Regions from separate parts of the Homo sapiens genome. Here region 1 is linked to region 2. Evidence: promoter capture Hi-C in human tissues and cell types (Jung and others, 2019). All regions are on one chromosome and are shown on one strand. Each heading gives the region's core, a stretch centred on a gene start or on the middle of the fragment in contact. The rest is flanking DNA. Distances are from core to core; before and after follow the strand shown.

What was found. Contacts are between HindIII fragments. The study calls those that stand out against the background at their distance.
Region 1: a contact is called between a fragment that was not itself captured here and the fragment with the promoter of RPN2 in region 2, in 1 of the 25 tissues and cell types used here (dorsolateral prefrontal cortex).

What each region holds. Positions count from the first base shown.
Region 1 is chr20:38,210,336-38,213,432 of GRCh38, forward strand. It overlaps KIAA1755, which reads right to left. Exons shown (of 14, transcript NM_001029864.2): 14 at 168-3,097. The coding sequence ends at 2,707. Among named protein-coding and RNA genes, the nearest start is that of TGM2, 47 kb to the left of the region's middle. The HindIII fragment of the contact is 7,984 bases long and covers 1-3,097 here.
Region 2 is chr20:37,177,907-37,180,911 of GRCh38, forward strand. RPN2 (ribophorin II) reads left to right here and starts at 1,424. Exons shown (of 17, transcript NM_002951.5): 1 at 1,424-1,463. The coding sequence starts at 1,451. MROH8 (maestro heat like repeat family member 8) reads right to left here and starts at 1,642. Exons shown (of 25, transcript NM_152503.8): 1 at 1,483-1,642; 2 at 1,317-1,481. The coding sequence starts at 1,574. RefSeq lists enhancers at 982-1,541, 1,050-1,129, 1,480-1,529, 1,542-2,099 and a silencer at 1,650-1,699. The HindIII fragment of the contact is 12,130 bases long and covers 1-3,005 here.

The DNA.
Region 1 (3,097 bases), core at 170-2,669, 1.0 Mb after region 2:
GTGGCACTGGGCAAGGTACCTCCAAATCTCTCTGAGTTTCAGCTTTGTCCTCAGTAAAATAGGGTGGAATCAGTCCTCATAATGTTGTAAAAAAAATTCAACAAGCCCTGTAAAGCTTTTAGAGGATTTAGCTCAAAGCTAGGCACAAAGAAAATGCAAAAGAAATGTTAGCTGTTATTATTCGATATTTTTATACATTGTTACTCATTATGACATTTCATTTCTGCATTCCCTTCTTCCCCAGGGGATGCAGTGAGGGGAGAGATTGTTGGGGTACAGTTCTTTCTGGGGACAGAGGGATGCACAAGGTAACCTTGGGGACTCCTCCCGCCCAAGTATTCTTAGATTACCTGTGCCCGCTTTGCCCCCCTTCCTTCTAGCAGTAGCTGTGGTCTCTCACAAGTCAGTTTCCATCCCAGCACCCCAGTTTCTGTGGCTCCCTGCCTGTGGTACCCACTGGCTGGATGCTGTTGCTATGGCAACAGCATTTTAAAAGCCGTCGGCCCTCTCTGAGGCAACAGGCATGGATGGAGATGGGCTGATCAACGCCTCTTGCATCTTTGGGCCTGTCTGGATGGAAGGCAGGGAGGGGAATGCAAGAATCAAACCTGGCTTTGGGTGGAGGACTCAGGCCCCAGCCCCGGGTGTTCCCCAAATGCACCCCCACTTTGCTGAGTCACACAGGAAGAGCACTTGGCTACAAACGCAGATTCCAGCCACCTGCCAGCACCAAGAGTCTATTTTAATGTCTGGGGTAGGATTCCCTAGGAAGCCTTTTGACCGGCTCTGCTCATGGCTCTGAGGCAGGCAGGCCCTAGACCACACCTGGGGAAGTCTTCAGTCTTGGAAGATTCCTGAAGCCATTTTAGGTATCAAGTGTGTGACTCTTGGCTGAGACAGCTCCTGAGAAGCCCTAGTTGTCCTCCTGTGCCTGGCCCAGGCCTGCCTCTCTCCCCTTCACAGCCTCATTGTGGGGGACCTGTGCCCCACAGCCTCTTTCTGGAGCCAGGAAAATTCAGAGCTAGGTGACCAAGAGGCCACTTCAGTAATGCATCCTACTGCAGAGGTAAGGCAAACACTTTCAGCTTAATGACACTCCAGAGAGGCGCTGGCAGGGGCCACTCTGGCCAGTATGAAGGGTGGGGCTTCTGGATGCTCCATCTAAGATCCGACAGATAGGCCCCTTCCCACGGTCCCCAACCACCAGGACCCAGCTGCCCACAGAACCCCAATGGTACTGGGCCACAGAGGCTGGGCATAGAGAAGTGGAAGTTGGGCAGGGAAGGGGACAGAAGACATTGAGTTCAGGGAGGCTTGGTGGGGAGGTGAGAGAGAGGAGGGACCTCTAAGGCGGAGAGGATTCTCTCTGGAGGACAAGGACAAGGTTCCACAGGGTTCCTTGAACTTGAGAATGAAGGTCCCATGCCTGCTGAAGAGGCCTTGTGAGACAGGGAGCACAGAAGACATGTCCTTCCTTTCTAAGCACAGGAACCGGCCTCTGGCTCCAGGAGGCAATTCTCTTTGCCAAGACCAATGGAGCTGGCTGTGCGTGCTGTCTACGAGTGCCAGCTCCTGAGGGTTGGCAGATAAATGCTCTGGATGCCTCACGCCTCAGGGGGTGTTCAAGGATTCCATGCTGTCTTTCAGAGATCTCCAGAAAGATCCAGCTACAGTTGCCAACATGGAAATTTGTATGAGGGTGGGGCACAGTGGCTCATACGTATAATCCCAGCACTTTGGGAGGCTGAGTCCAGAGGATCACTTGAGCTTGAGATCAGCCTGCCTGGGCAACATAGCAAGACCCCATGTCTACAAAAAATAAATAAATAATAAGCTGAGCATGGTGGTGCATAACTGTAGTCCCAGCTACTTAGGAGGCTGAGGTGGGAGGATTGGTTGAACCCAGGAATTTAAGGCTATGATTGCACCACTGCACTCCAGCCTGGACACCAGAGTGAGACCCTGTCTCTGGTGGGGTCGGGGGGGGTGGGCGGAAAAGGCAATCCCAGCACTTTGGCAGGCCAAGGCAAGAGGATCACTTGAGCCCAGGAGTTTGAGACCAGCCTGGGCAATGTAGTGAGGCCCCATCTCTAAACATAAAATACAATGAAGTTTTAAAAATTAAAAAAAAGAAAATTTGCTTGACAACATACTCTTTATTCCCTTTGCAGATTCGCCTCCTACTCCCCCAGCAGAGGTTCCTGGATCAGCACCAAACACACTGATCCTTAAATCCTCATCTCAGGGTCCATTTTCCTGGAATCCAAGACAAGGAAGCACTCCCGAATCTCCCCGAGGATTCTGCCTAAGGGCAACACTGGCCCTCGTACCCGAGGGGAGAGCTGTGTATGTTCCTGAGCTGCAGGTGGGTGTCTGCCTGCCTGCGAGCGAGACCTCTGGAGGGGTCTGTGCCGACAGGTCTTTCCACAATGAGAGCCTGGAGGGATGGAGCCAATCACACCATTTATTGTGCCCTGGTTCTGACGCCCACTCTTGCTATTCTGCATGGGTGAAGATCGGGTCTTCCAGGAGTTTTCTGGAGCCAGGGGCAGGTCGACAGTTCTCATCCTCCCAGCAGAGGCAGAATGTAAAACCAGTGCTCCATGGTGACGTCTCACTGGGACTGACCAGAGCTCCCAGCTACCCCTCCAGCTGGGCCCTGGCCCAGTGCTCCTGGAGGCTGGTGCGACTGAAGGGGCCTCTCAGCTAGAGGGAGGCAAGGGGACTTGTCTGGGGTGAGTCCTCAAGGGATGTCTGTGAGTCTGTCCCCTCTGAGGAGAAGCTGCCCCCAGTGAGGCGAGGGACCTGGCTCTGCCTGGGGGGCTGCTGCCGGAAGAAGGTGGTGGCAAGCAAATGCTCGCGGGCAGGGTCAGGCAGCTTGTGGGAGCCTTTGCCGTCTTCAGCCTCTGCAGCCTGGCCAGCTTCCTGGGGTGGAGAGCCTGCCTGGAAAGTTCTGTTCTGTTCCCCTCTGGGGGGCCCAGGAGGCCAATAGGACTTTGGCAAATGGTCCATGCCCAGTGAGTCTAGTGGAGGCTGATCCCACCTCCCCTTGGAAGTGACCTCTACACTCACACCCTGGCCCTTGGCTGCCACCCCT
Region 2 (3,005 bases), core at 174-2,673:
TTTGGGACAATAATAACGTTAATAAGAGTTATATTGTGCATACTTTATATGTTCATAAAACTGTAGTTAAAAGCACAGATTCTGGAGTCAGCTGCCTAGGTTCAAATCTGTTTCCTTCTCTTTAAAATGGGATTAGCCTGTAATCTCAGCACTTTGGGAGGCTAAGGCCGAAGGATCCTTTGAGCCCGAGTTCCAGACCAGCCTGGGCAACAAAGCGAGACGCGGTATCTACCAAAAATAATTTTAAAGATTAGCTGGGCGTGGTGTCGCAAGGCAGCAGTCCCAGCTACTCCGGAGGCTGAGGCGGGAGGGAAGATTGCTTGAGCCCAGGATGTCGAGGCTGCAGTAAGCTGTGATCGCACCACTGCACTCCAGCCTGGGCGACAGAGCAAGATCCCGTATCAATAAAAAAGGAAAGAAAAGAAATAATGCTTGTAGAGCGTTCGGCACAGTGTCGGGTTATACTGTAAACATTCAGTAGTTGGCGCTAGTTATTAGAGCGGTGTTCCTGGATGAGCCACCTCCATGTTGAGCCTGTAAAACTGGCCTAATATGTTCTCTATGAGTCACTGCATTGCTCTGCAAATCAGATAAAACGTCACTCGTAGGTCAGTTATTAACAACCCCACTGATAATCTTTGGAAAAAACTGACATAATTTTCTTTTTCTTTTTTTTTTGGTGAGACGGAGATTTACTCGTTGCCCAGGCTGGAGTGCAATGGCGCGATCTTGGCTCACCGCATCCTCCGCCTCCCAGGTCCAAGCGATTCTCCTGCCTCAGGCTCCCGAGTAGCTGGGATTACAGGCATGTGTGACCACGCCCGGCTAATTTTGTATTTTTAGTAGAGACGGGGTTTCACCGTGTTGCCCAGGCTGATCTCGAACTCCTCACCTCAGGTAATCCGCCCGCCTCGGCCTCCCAAAGTTCTGGGATTACAGGCGTGAGCCACTGCGCCCGGCCAGAAACTGCCACAATTTTCTAAAGAGGAAAAAAAAATCCCTTCTAAGCTATCCCCTCCCGACGAGACCCTTCCTGTTCCTTTAAAATGGGCCGGGCAGCAGAAAGACGAGTGAGTGACAGCAGACAGGCCAATCAGAAGCGGCCCCGTCTCGGGCCCACCCCGAGGCCTGGCCCAACCGCGTCCCGGTAGCTCCCGGAATAGGAGCGTTGCGAGACGGTCGGTTCCAAGTGGGCCTGGGCGCGGGGGAGAGGCGGGTCTGTCCTCGGGAACTGCAAGGCCCTGTGAGCGGGAGGACTGGGATCCCGGCCGCGGCTGCTGGAAGCGTCGAAGCTCAGCGGGGCCGCGGACACTGACCTGTGCTTAGAACTCATCCTGGCCCGCAGAGCCTGCCGCGAGTCCCTGGCGTCCCCTGTGGCGGGCTCTTGGAGCCACTTTCCCGAGCGGAAGTCAGCCCGCGGCTCGGACTCCGGCGGGACCTGCTCGGAGGAATGGCGCCGCCGGGTGAGGAGTTGCGCGTGGCTTTGGGGAGAGGGCTGTCGCCCGCGGGAGGTTACTAGTCGCCGCTCGAGAGCCGGCCAGGCGGGATCCCCTTCCCCTGCGGGACAGGGGCATGGGCACAAGCTCTGGCTGGGGCGCTCTCGGATCGAGGGTCCGAAGGAGGGCTGCGAGCTGGTGGGAGTGCCCGCGACCTGGCGGGGTTGGTGCCTGGGGGAGGGGTGCAGCGCGGAGCTACGGGTCGCCCCGAGGCTCAGCCGTGGGGACCGCGGACGCGCTTAGCCTAGGTCTGGCCTCATTCATTTCACTCGCGCGGGCTTCTGGGCCAGGCGGCCTAAGGTTCTGGTCCCGGCGCTGCCCCTTACTCCGTGTGAGGTTTTGGGCAGATTGTCCTTCTTTGTGCTGTAGTTTCCCATTCAGTGAAAGGGGCAAAGAAAACCCTCACTTCTCTCTGGGAGCCTGGAGCATAAGTTCTCAAGTGACACTCTAGGTGCAAACTTGCAGTCGGCCACGTATTCATTGTGTAACCCAAAGCAGGTTACTTAACCCCTCTACACCTCAGTTTCTCATCTGTAAAATAAGTTAGTCAAATTAGTCACGTTATCTGCCTCGTTGAGTTGCTTTATTAAGTGAAATAATCTTCGTGCTTAGTTTAGAACAGTGCATGGCCCTAGGTAAGAACTAAGTTAACTGCATTGGAAGTTACTGAGTAGACGCTGTGCAGGGTGGAATTTCATGTAGCCTCATCGTAACTTTGGAAGCATGTACTCTTGTTACTACCATTTGACAGATGAGAAGTTGGAATCCCACGGAAGGGAACTTACTTGCCCAGGGTGACACATGAATGAGTCAGTGGCTCACCGTTTCATTATTTGAGAAGTTCAGGATAGTAAAGTGGTTAAAAGCAGACTTTGGATTCAAATTGCCTGAAGTTTGATTTTCAGTGATGTGTCCTAGGGCAGGTAACTACTTCTGAGCCTTACTTTCCTGGTCTGTGAAATGCAGAAAATAGCCACCTTGCTTAGATGTTGTGAGGATTTAATGATTTGGTGTGTGCAAAGCACAGCATAGCGTGGGCATACCTAACATATTAAGTGCTCAACTTTTAGTCAGAAAAGTTACTGCTCTCGTTAACATGGAGTGAGAAGATTAGGATTCTGACACAGGTGCTGTTTTAGGGGAATTTACGGTCTAGGTGGGAAAATGCTAGTCGCAGCCATTCACTAGATCTTCATATATTGGGTACCCGCCTGTGCACAAGGCATTGGGGATTCAGCATTAGTATCTTGACTCCGCTCTCTCTTAGGTCTTTCTGTCCATTAGCAGTTTCTGATAGGCTTTGACTTTGAATTCTAGCCAGACTAACTCTCATCACTTCTCATCATGTTCACTGCTGTTGCCCTGGTTTGGGCCACCATCATCTTCTGGCTTGGATTATGGCGGTAGTCTCCCAACTGGTGTCCCCTGCTCTGTCCTTGCACCTGCATGGTCTGTTCTCCACACAGTATTGTTTATTCTCAACACAGTAATACCATTAGAGTGTAAGTC